Linked DNA regions of Homo sapiens: all the other regions are linked to region 2. The links are contacts of gene promoters, found by promoter capture Hi-C in blood cells and fetal thymus (Javierre and others, 2016). All regions are on one chromosome and are shown on one strand. Each heading gives the region's core, a stretch centred on a gene start or on the middle of the fragment in contact. The rest is flanking DNA. Distances are from core to core; before and after follow the strand shown.

Evidence for each region. Contacts are between HindIII fragments. The CHiCAGO score rates a contact against its expected background, and 5 or more counts as called.
Region 1: a fragment that was not itself captured here is called in contact with the fragment with the promoter of ERICH6B in region 2 in 1 of 17 cell types (endothelial precursors); the score reaches 6.4 in endothelial precursors.
Region 3: the fragment with the promoter of LRRC63 here is called in contact with the fragment with the promoter of ERICH6B in region 2 in 5 of 17 cell types (endothelial precursors, fetal thymus, naive CD4 T cells and 2 more); the score reaches 13.5 in endothelial precursors.
Region 4: a fragment that was not itself captured here is called in contact with the fragment with the promoter of ERICH6B in region 2 in 2 of 17 cell types (total CD4 T cells and total CD8 T cells); the score reaches 5.8 in total CD4 T cells.
Region 5: a contact is called between a fragment that was not itself captured here and the fragment with the promoter of ERICH6B in region 2, in 1 of 17 cell types (naive B cells). The highest score is 5.6, in naive B cells.

The regions. Positions count from the first base shown.
Region 1 is chr13:46,147,925-46,150,624 of GRCh38, reverse strand. It overlaps LCP1 (lymphocyte cytosolic protein 1), which reads left to right. Exons shown (of 16, transcript NM_002298.5): 9 at 2,178-2,273. Among named protein-coding and RNA genes, the nearest start is that of LCP1, 33 kb to the left of the region's middle. RefSeq lists an enhancer at 1-629. The HindIII fragment of the contact is 1,562 bases long and covers 628-2,189 here.
Region 2 is chr13:45,614,373-45,617,072 of GRCh38, reverse strand. It overlaps ERICH6B (glutamate rich 6B), which reads left to right and starts at 1,334. Exons shown (of 15, transcript NM_182542.3): 1 at 1,334-1,388. RefSeq lists an enhancer at 1,210-1,711. The HindIII fragment of the contact is 3,697 bases long and covers 1,026-2,700 here.
Region 3 is chr13:46,210,524-46,213,223 of GRCh38, reverse strand. LRRC63 (leucine rich repeat containing 63) reads right to left here and starts at 1,296. Exons shown (of 10, transcript NM_001282460.2): 1 at 965-1,296; 2 at 105-222. The coding sequence starts at 189. It overlaps LOC107984578 (a long non-coding RNA gene), which reads left to right and starts at 1,372. Exons shown (of 4, transcript XR_001749863.3): 1 at 1,372-2,700. RefSeq lists a silencer at 1,211-1,540. The HindIII fragment of the contact is 5,320 bases long and covers 1-2,700 here.
Region 4 is chr13:46,342,422-46,345,121 of GRCh38, reverse strand. RUBCNL (rubicon like autophagy enhancer) reads left to right here. Exons shown (of 15, transcript NM_025113.5): 14 at 291-381; 15 at 1,625-2,700. The coding sequence ends at 1,737. Among named protein-coding and RNA genes, the nearest start is that of RUBCNL, 43 kb to the left of the region's middle. The HindIII fragment of the contact is 1,699 bases long and covers 409-2,107 here.
Region 5 is chr13:46,291,018-46,293,717 of GRCh38, reverse strand. The region is part of intron 2 of LOC105370194 (a long non-coding RNA gene); the gene reads left to right. Among named protein-coding and RNA genes, the nearest start is that of LINC00563, 5.5 kb to the left of the region's middle. RefSeq lists an enhancer at 1-260. The HindIII fragment of the contact is 1,798 bases long and covers 395-2,192 here.

The DNA.
Region 1 (2,700 bases), core at 159-2,658, 530 kb before region 2:
TCTGTAATGTCTCTGGTTTCATAAATGGGAGCAGCAGATGGGAATTCCCTGTAAAAAATTAAATGAAGATGACTCTTCTAGTTATACTAATAACAGCAAACATGGTGTCTGCAACATGCCAGGCACTGTTCTAACTGATTTATATGTGTATTCTCTTATTGAATCCTTACAACAACCCCATGAGGTAAGGGTTATTATCCTCTCATTTTACAGATAAAGAGACAAAGAGGTCCATAGGGGAAAGGCTGAGGCAGGAATACACTGTGGTTTTCAAGTATATGAAAAGTTCCCTGTCAAGGTGAAAGAAAACAGCTATTGGCAATGATGACAGATGGATGAAGATAGAAAGTGGTTAAGGAGCAGAAAGGAATGGAAAGCGGTCCCTAGAAGGAAAGAGTAGGAGATGCTGGGATGCAACACCAGGAAAATACTTCAGTCTCCACTTTCTCAAACATTAAATAACTTTTCCCCAAAGAGAAAGAGTCAGAGGAAAGTTCACATGACTCAACAGGAGTACACCTAGGCTTGTAATTCTTTGAGTAACAGTTTCCCACTGCTATATGACGTGCATTCAGTGGCATTTAGAACTCAGCGTGTGTCAGGCACTGTGCCAGTCAGAGTCAAGCTTCTAGATGGAAAGCCCCCATTTTTTAGGATCTAAGCTAAATCCATCTTTCTAACTATGCATCTTTCATGGGCTATTAACATTCTTCTAGCACCACCAACCGACCTGGGTTTTAACAGGAGCTGGCTGTCATGCTCTCCCTTTGTGCTCAACAGTTAAGCTCTGCAATTGCAAAACTTTTCAGACAAAATTAGGCTGTCAGATCTCAGCTGTAAATTTACCTAATTTCCTGTCATTAAATGGCTGTGTTCTCTAGAACCACCATTTTGTGCTTTGGGAAGTGTCTGTATGAGATAGGAGCTGGCCAGATGAGCACTTACTTATACAGTGTTGTGCCTGTTCTCTGGCAGCCGCTGCATGGCAACTGACTCCGTGCTGTCATGTGTATGTCTGAGTAGCCAGCCAGCAACCTTGGGAGATGTCTTTAAATCGTGTAAATTGGCAAAGGCGAGGAGAACACCCAGGCTAGAGTGAGTGAGAAGGTTCATGAGAGTCAGGTGAAATGAGGTTACTCTTAGCCAAACTAAAAAGATGTAACCCAGGGCAGGCAGATGGTATTGGTGCCTGACACCTGCATGTGACTTTCACTGACTTCAAAATAGCTACAGTGAAAAGTCAGAGAAGGGAGGGTAGATAGAAGGGAGATGAAGATCATTTTCCCCAGGTGCAACATCAATGATTCACACTCTCTGGTTCTCCTCTTTCTAATGCCAAAAGTGGTGAGCATACCTCTCCTCTGCCCAGGCCTTACCTACCCTAACCAGTTGTAGAAACAAAATAATAGCTGATTTTTCGATCTTTATGAGAAATTGAGATGCTATTAAATGATTTAAATAAACTACCTGAAAATCTGTATGCTTTCATTGACTAAGAATAAATTTATATTTTAAGACTATAATTCTGAGAATTCTTTTTGTCAATAAGCATATTTTCAGAATCTAAGAAAACTTGAGAATTCAATACCTGTATCTAATCTGCTATAACTAAATTGAACCATTTTTCTAGCTTCTAGATAAATATGAAATGCACTTTTCTTAATATTTCTCCTTTTACGTAAAGATTGCTTGTTAATGCTTCAATCTTCTGTCTTTGACATCTTTTTCTCTTGCTGATTGTCCATTTAAATGTATTTTAAACTCGCTTTAAACTTGTGCTTCCTTTTTCTGTCACTTTTTTTTAATTAAACCTTAGCTGACTGACTTCTACAGCAATATAAAGGTATATATATATTTTCCTGTATACAATTTAATTCATGTAAATAAGTTGTTTTTCTCCCCTAAAGACAACAGAATAATATCCACTTCTTTAGGGTGCCTTTTGTGTATATCTTGTCTATTTTATTGTTACGCTCCTTTTAAAAAGAAAAGCAAATGTGATATGTAAAGAGACAAATAGAACATTCAAATTAGTGAATGTTTCTAGCTTTGTTAAGTTACATTCTGGAATGATAGCTGAATATGAAATAAAATGTTTGCTTTTGGGAAATCATTGTTATGCTAAGTATGTAATTAGCTGTGCTATTTTGAAATTGGAATTTCTTAATTTCTCACAGGACTCAAAAGCTTATTACCACCTGCTTGAGCAGGTGGCTCCAAAAGGAGATGAAGAAGGTGTTCCTGCTGTTGTTATTGACATGTCAGGACTGCGGGTAAGGCCAGGTCCCAGTTGTGTTTGGAGAATATGATGCTATTTTCATGTTGGCAGTTCCATTACCTTGTGTGGCCCTGATTCTGGAGTTCCATGACTGGGCATTTCTGCCTAAAGCCCTGTTAAAACGGTAAAACTGTGAGCAGTTTGGGATAATAATTGATGAAAACTGAATCTGGAAATACAACATTAAAGAAAGAAACCAATAGTAATTAAACACCATCCAGCATGCTAGGCAATTCTATATATGTTCATCATTTAGTAGACTCTATAACCCCACATGGGTCTGAATGTTATAATAAAACTTCTGTTTTGCCGCCACTTTAATACTGATCTTGAGAAGTCTCTTTGCCCGTTTCTGTGCCTCATTTAATATCACTGGAGTTAAATCCAATGAGTTCATGTTGAAGTCAACTGATTCCTAATGA
Region 2 (2,700 bases), core at 85-2,584:
AATGGCAATCATTAAAAAGTCAGGAATCAATGGATGTTGGAGAGGATGTGGAGCAATAGGAATGCTTTTACACTGTTGGTGAGAGTGTAAGTTAGTTCAACCATTGTGGAAGACGGTGTGGCAATTCCTAAAGGATCTAGAACCAGAAATACCATTTGACCCAGCAATCCCATTACTGCGCATATACTCAAAGGATTATAAATCATGCTGCTGTAAAGACGCATGCACACGTATGTTTATTGCAGCACTATCCACAACAGCAAACACTTGAACCAACCCAAATGCCCATCAATGATAGACTGGATAAAGAAAATGTGGCACATATACACCACGGAATACTATGCAGCCATAAAAAAGAATGAGTTCATGTCCTTTGCAGGGACATGGATGAAGCTGGAAACCATCATTCTCAGCAAACTAACACAGGAACAGAGAACCAAACACCACATGTTCTCACTCATAAGTGGGAGTTGAACAATGAGATCATATGGGCACAGGGAGGGGAACATCACACACTGGGGCCTATCGGGGGCGGGGGGGCAAGGGGAGAGATTACATTAGGAGAAATACGTAATGTAGATGACGAGCTGATGGGTACAGCAAAACACCATGGCACGTGTATACCTATGTAACAAACCTGCACGTTCTGCACATGTATCCCAGAACTTAAAGTATAATGAGAAGAAAAAGAAAAGGAAAGAAAAGGAAGGGCAAATTGCAAGCACTTCAAAGACTGAGGTCCTTCTGAAACCTCTGTGACAACTGACCAGGAATGCCTACATAGAAGTGGTTTGCAACCCAGCCTCCCACCCCACCTGACCATTCTGCCACTCCTGCAAGTCCACTCACAGTGGCCAGGGCATGGGAACTCAGCTTTCTCCAACCCTTGGCCCCAGATCAACCCCTTGTGGGTCTCTCTATCCCTTTCAGGGCAGTTCCTTTCCTGGGGACCAGCTCCAGTGAGCCCATTCAGGGCCTTGAGAGCCACATGTCCCATCTCTTCATCTACGCAGCCACCACAAGCTTAGCACTGGACCCCAGGATTCTAGAAAGTCCCAGCCTGGAGGTCTGACGTGTACTGTCTCCATTCAGGGAAACACAATCCCCACGGCTGCAACTTCCCCCTGACACAGGCGACCTTCAGGCAGACAGCAGGAAAACTTTCTGGCCGCCGCTGACGACTGGTCCAAACAGTTCCCCGCCAGGAGAGAGGCTGGGAAAGGGAAGGCAAGGGCAGGTGCAGAGGCTTAGAATTCTCCGCCACGCACACACGCAGATTAGATGGGGCCCAGGGAGGCTGCGGAGTGCGGTTCCCATGGTAACCGAGAGCTGCCACAAACGCCGGGGCCTGAGATCGCGGTGGATGCACGCGCGGGAGCCTGGCTTGGGTAAGGGCTGCGCACGTTAGCAATGCGCTCCTCCTCCTCTTTCTCCTCCGCCTCCCTCTCCACCCACTCTCCTCCTCCTCTTCCCCCTCCTTCTCTGAGGGAGAAAGCAGGGAGCAGAGTGGAGGATCTGGGCAACAAAGAAGCGCCAAGTACATAGACTTCTTTGTTTCTCTCGCCCTTTCTCGGCCTCTCTATTCCCTTGGCCTTTCTGACATCTGCTTCGACCCAGCTTCTTCCCATTGTGAAGGCCGTTGTTGGGTCATGATATTTCTACAAATAAAGGATAAGGGGTCACTTTCTCTCCAGAGAGCCCCTAGCTCTGGGGGGAAGTGCGAGTGTGGATACTATGACTTCTTCCTTGACAGCCTGAATATAGACCAGTCCCCCAACCAGGAACAAATTCCCCAGATCGAAAACTCCAGCCTTGCCCACGAAGCGACTCCTGTGGCCCAAAGGCAAGTCACTCAGCTTCCCCTGTTTCCTTCCCCTACCTCTCTAATGTGGGGGGTAAACAGCAGTCCTAACTGGCCTTCCAGGGAGATGTGAGCAGTGACCAAGGTCAGTGTTTTTACAAGTGTTCTGTTCCAAGTGATGGCTCAAAGTCACCCTCCTTGAAAGTTCAAACCTGAATATATTCGAAATTCTATTTATAAAAAAGGTCCTAGGAAATGATGTTGTAATGAGTGCACTGGGTGTCTATAGTGCTAAACACTGCACTGATTGGTCTAAGGGGGTTGCCAGAACATTTTGATTTCATGTTTGCCCCCTGGCATGTTTTAATGTAGATCCAGATCAGCCCAGGCCTGGCACCATGGAATTCACAGAAGTAGGTCATCAGTTGTTCCCCTCATGGGGGAGAGCAGCAGACTTCAGCCAAGAATCACACAAGTTAATGAACAAGGTTATAAACAGCTATGGTAGATGATAACAGCAACAAGAACACATTACGTTTGCAGAGCACCATGGAATCCTTGGAGTCCTTTACAGAAATGAGGCTTCTCACCTTGATCCATCTAGGGTTTCCAAGCATCGGCTGGGAGAAGCCCAGTGAAAGCCAAGGGTCACCCACTCCATCTTCTTCACCAGCTCCCAGCTTGCTGTCTTAGCCCACCCATAACTCATCTCTTGAGTTTCCCCCATAGCAGGAGGGAAAGTGAAGTGATGGGGGCTGAAAAGTCCAAACCAGAAATTTCATTTGTGGTCAGCCTCCTGTGTGCCTCTCCTTCCGTTGGATCATCCATTCGATCCACATCCTTCTGTTGAAATCCTGCTACGTGCCTGACATGGTGCCGGGCTACAGTCTCATGGGTGA
Region 3 (2,700 bases), core at 47-2,546, 600 kb before region 2:
AGTTATTAGTGAGTGTATTTATTGTGATTCTGAGCTGTGCAAGTCAAGGAATTTCTATGAAAGATACATAAATGTTAATACACATATCTGATTAATACACATACCTGTATGGGTTTTTTTCTCATGTAAAGACAGCTTAGTGAATTTTGGAGGTAAGGGTCTTCGAAGAAGCAGTGGGGGCTTTTGCATTTTAATGAATAATAAGTGCTGTTTTTCATAATCCTTGGTTTAAATGAGAATTGAAAAGGTTTTGAATATGTTTGAATTGTTGAAAAATAATAAGAATTTAGATTACATCTTAAAGAAAATCATTCTGTACCAATACTCTACTGAATCCAGGCAGAATTCCTTTATGAAAAAAAAAGAGGGTAAGAAAATAATTCTTTAAAACTTCTATTAATAGAAAGAATCCAGTTAAAATGTAGGGTTATAAGTAAACATAGAATTTTAAAAATATGTGTATTATTACTACCCAGGATCATTCTACAATTTTCCATGTTAGTACAAAGTTCAATTTGCCAATGCTATTTCAACTAGTAAATACTGATTTTTCAGAATAGTCGAAATGACATTTTTTTTCTCTCTCTCCAAAATGTTATCGCTATAAATGTAGAAAGAGAATTTGGTCAGAAATGTGTAGAAGATGCCTTCATTAGATAAGCCTCTGAAGACCCACCATATCTAACCATTCACAAACAAATTGTTTTCTTTCTATAATGGCTTGTTTTTCAACCACTATGCTTGGGCCAAAACAATTCAATCCTAAAATAAGATGGGTTTCACTATAATGAGATTTCCCAGGGCTGCTGGATCCCAACTCATACTGTTTAGAAATAATGCGAGAAGATGCACCCCCAAAATGTGCTTTTAGTTTGCAGGGCAACATCAAAAGTGCCTGGCACGGCATTATTCCATTGATAGCCTAGAAGGGAACACCCTGAAACTGCACAAATGGGCCGTTTACCGCCAAAAGATAACTGCACACAAGCGCTCAAGGTGTACTCCCTGGTCATATGTTCCACACGATGCTGGAAATCTCCCTTCCGTAGTACCCAAAGAGGGGCATGGAAGTGCTGGACTCCCACACTACCCTTTAGGATAATCGGCCGCTTTCCAAACCAACTGGCTTTTCGTCTCCTATCTCCTTTTCCTCGGAATCTAGGCAGCGAGGTAAAGGTCCAGCGAGGGTCTTCCTGCAGGAGGCTGTTCCCGAAGAAGCACCACGGATCCCCACCCTCTAGGAGGCCAAGGAGACACACCCTAGCAACCGGGGTCCGCTAAGCCAGCCCAGCCACTTGACGCGCAGGCGCGGGGGCGGGACAGGCGAGGCGGGCGCGGGACAGGCGAGGCGAGGCGGGCGCCGGGAGGGGCAGGCCCAGCCCACGGTGCAGCGCGCGCGGAGCCCTCGCCTTCCTCCGACGCACTGTGGGGCTGCAGGGGAAGCTGCGGGCCGTGGGGGCCGGAGGAGAAGCCGGCTCCACGCGCAGCTGCTGTACGGAACGCCGTGGTGACAATTGTTATTACTATTTTTATGCTTAATGGCAATGACCACTATTATTTATTATTTTCTCTCGATTACAGGATGCTTTACTTGGGTGTCTAGAATATGGGCTGGCATTCTTTAAGGCTGCACTTTTGTGCAGCCGGGTCCCGGGGCTAATTTTGCAGTGCTCTCGAAAAGCGGGCATTCGGTTTTCTTTCTCTTCCTTTCATGCAACCTGTTTTCTCTTTCTGATCCTTTAAAGTTCCTGGCTGAGGCTGGATTGTGTAGAAATAAGGGCATTAGGGATCCAAGCGGGCCATAAAAGAAACCCATTTCTCACTGTCATCGTCCTCTGTTCTGGTTATCATATTGTGACGTGTCGCCTCTGTCATGGTGTTGATGAACCTGTGTGTGCAGTCATAGATACATCGTGTGTGTTTGCAAAAATGTGCGTGTTTCTCTGGAGATTTGAGGGGGAAAGAGCACTAGAAAGAGCTCATCTGATAGATGCGGAAATCCGAACTCAGAAAGTAAACTAGGTAGAGCTTCCTTCCAGGTTTGGTTTTTTCTAAGTACTAGCGCAGGAACTTTATAACAGAAGTTGGAAAATGAGAGACTTCTGTATAAATCTTTCTAGCTTTGGGGATCTTTCAAGATTCACACCATAACCATGTCTTCCTTTTTCTCCTTAGTAGCAAACATGTTTTAAAACAATCAATGAAAAAAGTAGAAAAGTTTTAACAAAAAAGTAATCAGACTCTGGAAAATATTATGCAACTTGTTTTCCTTTACAGTAGTAGTGTACTGTTTCTTTTCCTTGTAAGTTTACTGTGTCCCAATTATACTGCTGCCCCAGACTATGAATTTATTTCCACTTTTGCTGTTATCTACACCATAGATTCATTAGTTTCTCAGAAATACAAAGCTGAAAATAAAAGGCAGCTCTGTGGCTAAGATTAGTCTCAAGTAATATATATCGTGCATATTTTGTAAATGTGAAAAAAGGTTTATATTTTTAAGCATAAAAAATGACAGTGTAAATTGAGTCAGGTACCTATGCTCTTCAAGATCGTTGGAACCATGAGAACTACAGGAATTCAGTTTTACTGACTGACGTTTGGCCTTTAAAATTTATGCTTAGCTTTGTGTAGTCGAAAGCAAGGCTTCTGAATGCTTTTTCAAAAAATGCTTTGTCACACTTGGAATCCGCAGGCATC
Region 4 (2,700 bases), core at 9-2,508, 730 kb before region 2:
GAATTGTAGTGCAGCAATGATAAATGAAATTAGATCATTTCAGAGTGCATGTTTACAATTAGGACCTTACTCTGGTACTTTAAAACTGCTTTGATATGGAATTGGTTGAATGTACATTTTTATCTTTTTTTTGATTCTGACCCATTCATTGCTGCAAAACAACATCCTTTTCCTTCTAGAGGCTGGAATCATAGACACTGAAACACTGATGTTTATAAAGTTCTGTAATAGTGAAAACTCAGCTTATCCATCAAGAGAAGGTTGTAACTTTTTGATGTCTTCTTTTACAGCTGTGTCAAGGAAAGGGCTTTATTTGTGAATTTTGCCAGAATACGACTGTCATCTTCCCATTTCAGACAGCAACATGTAGAAGATGTTCAGGTATTTAATAACTTAATAACATAAGCTTAATAATAGGTTAACTAATTAAACTAAGTTTAGTAACTTAAGCACAAAATTAACTTAAGCTGAATAATAGCTTAATAATTTAAGCACAGTTATTTAAAGTACAGTCATGCTGGTGTGTGCTTGTATGCTGGATTGGAGATAATGAAGTTTTGGGCACAGAAGGAGGAGTATTTGGGTGGGGCAGGGATAAAGGATAATGTCTTCTGGTGCAGGGTTTGGATAGAGGAGATGGTCCCTTTGTTGCCTGTGCCCACCTCTCTGTCTTGTAATTGGATCATTCATGCCCAGTGGTGAAGTCTCTGGCTGCTTTTGTGCCACGGAGGCAGAGTTGAGTAGCTGTTGTAGAGACCACATGGCCCTCAGGGTCTAAAACATTTGCTATCTGGCTCTTTACAGAAAAGGTTGCCGACCCTTCTGTGGTATTAGTGCCCGAGAGAATCCCGTGTTCTGTAAACTCTGTTTAATGGGAGAGATCCTGGTAATGAACTCTGCCTTCACCCTTGATAGGGGCATATCCTCCTCTCAGGCCACTCCAGTGTTGTCTCCCCAACCCTTTAGGCAGTGTTGCAGGACTGGCTCCCCAGCAAAGAGACTCTGGGGCAGAGACTTGCCTACAAAAAGTTTCATGTTCTTCAACTTAATACCTGTAGGGGTGTGCAGGCAGCAAGACTGGGAGAGGGAGAAGTTGAACTGTGGTGGGGTTGCAGTGGAGCCCTCAGCTCATCTCACGGGGAGCTCTGGAGTTTGGTGGCCTTTCAGCATTGTTCCAAACTGGGGACAAATTGGGGCCGGCCTACTCACTATATAGTGATCAGTCATTGAATGCAGGCTGGTGCCAGGAAGGGGACAAAGCAGCTTTCTCGATGTAGGGCCATATCTAGAGAAACAATGTGGCTTCCCAAGAGTTATCAGCCACCACCTCTCTTGGCAGCTGGGGAAACGCCTGCCTCAGTGCTTGAGCAGATCCAGGGGGCACTGCAGTGTCCGTTACATCAGGCTCTCTGAGCCTCCTGTTCATGACCTGTTGGAAGAGTCCAACAGGTCTGCTGAAATGTGACCTGCTGAAACGTGCGTTTCAGCCTGGCTGGTTTCTTTTTAGAAGACTCTGGGCTCTGGATTCAGACCCCTCTCCCTCCCTAGGATGGAGACGAATGTCTGCAGAAATGTGAGAAAACAAGATAGACCGTTTGCTAACGGCTCTCTTCCTTGCTTGCAGCGTGCAGGGCTTGCTTTCACAAACAGTGCTTCCAGTCCTCCGAGTGCCCCCGGTGTGCGAGGATCACAGCGAGGAGAAAACTTCTGGAAAGTGTGGCCTCTGCAGCAACATGATGCCCCTGAGTACTGTGAAAAAGACTGTTCAACATGCCTTATGATAACACCGATTTGTGTCTATTATTGGTGACATTGTTTTAGATATTGGGTATTGTATATTAAGGAAAAAGATGGTCTATATTCTCTTTATTGCATATACTTAATGTTTCAAAAGAATGCAGATTCTGTGTTTAAGCACAGGGCTGATAGTTGTGGTTTTGTTTACAAATGTTCTGTTTTGGCTGCTATTGGTTTTTTAAAGAGGTTTTTTATACTTTTGTATTTGAATAGTTATGTTTCACTGATGCTGAGCCAGTTTGTATGTGTGTGCATATATGTGAACTGTAACTGACAAGATGAATTACTCAGTTTCTCTTTCTCTAAAGCTTGTTTGATGAAACTGGTTGGTCCTTTCAGTGAACAAAAATATGACCCCAAATCTGTTTGCTCTGGCTTTTATTTCTTCAGGAAGCAGACTTCCACTTAAATGCCATTTTGTGATTGTGTCAATCATACACATTTTATTTACTTCAGAGTTTGAATAGAGAGTACACATTTCTTCTGCAGATTTATTTCATGATGAGTTTGAGTTGCTTAGCAGGGCGTGTGGGTCCCGTTGAAGTGCAGTTTGAAGCAACTGCTTCTAGATGGCACTCTTTCAGGTGGCACAAATTGAACCTGTATTTGTCATCTCTGTTCCACACACTGCAATGTCAAGGGATGCAGAAGTGAGTAGAATTCCATCCCTGCCCTTGAGGATCTTGCTTTAACAGATGTAAAACTGAACATAAGGTATTTGCAGATTTAAACGAACTGGGGGAAATAATGAACAGTGTGATTCTAGTAATAACATTAAAATCATAGACATTGACTAATAAGGTTAAATGAATCACAAAACCTTTATGAATTTCTTTTTTCTAATAGTTCTTATATGTTTTCCTGAAACATGTGAGCCTATTCTTTTTTCTTCTACTTTCTATA
Region 5 (2,700 bases), core at 44-2,543, 680 kb before region 2:
AAGTGATCATACCTGCCCATTGTGTGGGTAACAAACATAAAACCATTTGAAAAGAGCTCTGGCTGTCTTGTGAGCTTTCCACCCACCCACTTCCCATTAAGCTCTGGAATAGGTCTCTTAAGACGTCTGAAAGTTATGTAAATTGGAGATCACAATTTAGTTCAGAGTTATAAGAACAGTTAAGGACATCTTTGATATAGGAAAACTCCACGTGTTATTTTTATGGATTGCTTTGGGGGCATACAGTGTGCTTCTGAGGGAACATTCTAGGGTGGACTCTGTTACCTGGAATTGTGTGGTTAGTGTGGGCTTATCAGCCTTCACAGTGGGCTTTCTTGTAGAACTAGGATCTGAGTCTATTTGAAAGTTTTCAAGGGCTTTGAAAATGGAAGCTTCTTGGTTCTTAAGGAAAGGGGGTCCAGATTGTTTTGGGCTAGCCATGATTGGGCTGTGGTGTAGATGAGCAACTCAAGCTCTATTGTGAATGAAAAGAGAATACAGCTGTTTAGGAAAGCTGTGAGAAGGGCATGCAATGGAACCCATAGGATAGAGAGGAGGGAGATGCACCAGTGGTTGTGGGATGGAGACCTAGTTTTCTGACACCTGAGTGAGAGGGAATTGTCAGAATGGGGAAAGAGGCTGTCCATGCAGTGCAGGAGTGGGTCAGGGTGTTGGGAAGGGCAGACTCATAGGAAGCCTAATGCAGGGTCCCCCTCTCACACGCCCAGGAGCTGCCTTGAGTAGTGTGTTCGTGGCTGACCACCCAGCCTTCACGCATGTGGAGATCTCCCTCTCCTCCTCCACCCTATACATGAACCTCGGCTCCACCCAGCCCTCTGCCTCACCAGTTGACTGACTAGCAAAAGTGACCCCAAGCAATGCCACAAGGCATGCTTCTGCCCAGCCTTCCTCATGTGGACAACTTCCCAAGATATCTACAAACCCAAAGGGGGCCCTCATAGCTTAGTGTTCTCAGAGTTCCCTGTCCTGTGCTTGGGGCAGGAATCCTAGTGAAATGAGCAAAATTTAGACCCTCAAGTTGGGACAGTGCTTAACAGCATTCCGTCACCTTTTTAAGGTAATACTGTTTTCCCCTTTTTTTTTTTTTTTTTTTTTTTTTAGAGCCAGGGTCTCCCTCTGTCATGTAGGCTAGAGTGCAGTGGCACAATCACAGCTCACTGCAGCCTCTACCTCCTGGGCTCAAGCAATTCTCCTGCCTCAGCCTCCCAAGTAGCTGGGACCACAGGCCTGTACCACTATACCTGGCTATTTTTTTATTATTATTTTTTGTAGAGACAGGGTCTTGCTTTGTTGCCCAGGCTGGTTTCGAACCCCTGGTCAAGCAATTCCCCTGCTTTGGCCTCTCAGAATGCTGGGATTACAGGCTTAAACCACTGCAGCTGGCCTTGTTTTCATACTTTTAAACTTATTTGTCTTACACAGGACATCTTTTACACTTGTGTCCGCTGAAGACTACAAATAGCGGTAATTCCATTTGCCCTGTATAGAGTGGGGGACAAGGAGATAAACCTAATAGTGATGATGATAAACACCTGTAGCATCATCATGAGAGGAATTCAGGTGGAATCAAAATACAAGAACAGTTAAGAGTTCTTTGAGCTTTGACAAAAGGAATACCATAGATCATTTCCGAGTCTCTTTTTGGTGTATTGCCAAACAGAAAAGGAAAATAAAATTGTAAAGTTCCAATTAGGCAATTTGTTCTGTGATGCCTGATGTTACAGAGAAATGCCCTTGTCAGAATGCCGTTTCAAGGATAATCTATCATCATGCTTTCTGGGCTAAGAGAATGCCCAGTTAATGTCAGTGGGAAATCTGGTGTCCCAGCAGATATTTCCAATTAGATAATGACTTTGTGAAACTGTCTGTAGCTGGCCCAGGCCTTACGGAGACTATTGATCTGCTTGTTGAGCCAAATTTTGCATTACTATAAATTACTTGGGTAATGCTTACATCTTATTACCTCACTCCTAAATTAAAAGTGTCTGACAGAAGCAAGAGTGACCCAGGGATCAAAAAGTACAATTGGTGTGCATCTCTTTTTAGTTAAAAAAAAAAAAAAAGAATACAACCCATAAGCTATATGCAATTGAGCTAGAGAAAAGTACAGGAAGAAAATCAAACTGACTTATTTGTACAGTTTCAGGTAAGCCCATGGTTCTCACTAAGCTTTTTATAATTATGGCAAATGGCTTGTCTGAGTTCCAGAGGAATATGCCAATTGGCCTCATGAAGTTTCAGCTTAAAAGAAATCTAGTCATAGTAGTATTCTGGAGACACCTCTGACTTCTGCAGAATTTTCTAACATCAGCTTTCTTTATTTGAAACATAGTGGAAAATTTAACTTGTTTAGATTTTCCCAGTCATCAAACAAATTCATGTGTTGTTGCTGAAATGTTGTGAAGGGGGTCAGACATTCCAAAACTGATGTGGCACATTGAGTAGACTGATTCTTACTCTTCTCATGCTCCAGGTGTCAGGAAACAGCCTTTCTCACATTCAGGGGCAATCATGGAGGAACTCCCTCAAAAGGGACAGGTAGCTCCAGTTCCTGGACTCACACATTGCCTAGGGGCCACACGGGGACTGAGGGAGAATGCAATGTGCCTGCTTTTTTTTTTTGGCAGGTAGGACCTAAGCAGGGGTGAGGCATGGGAGGCAGAATGGAATAACTTGGTC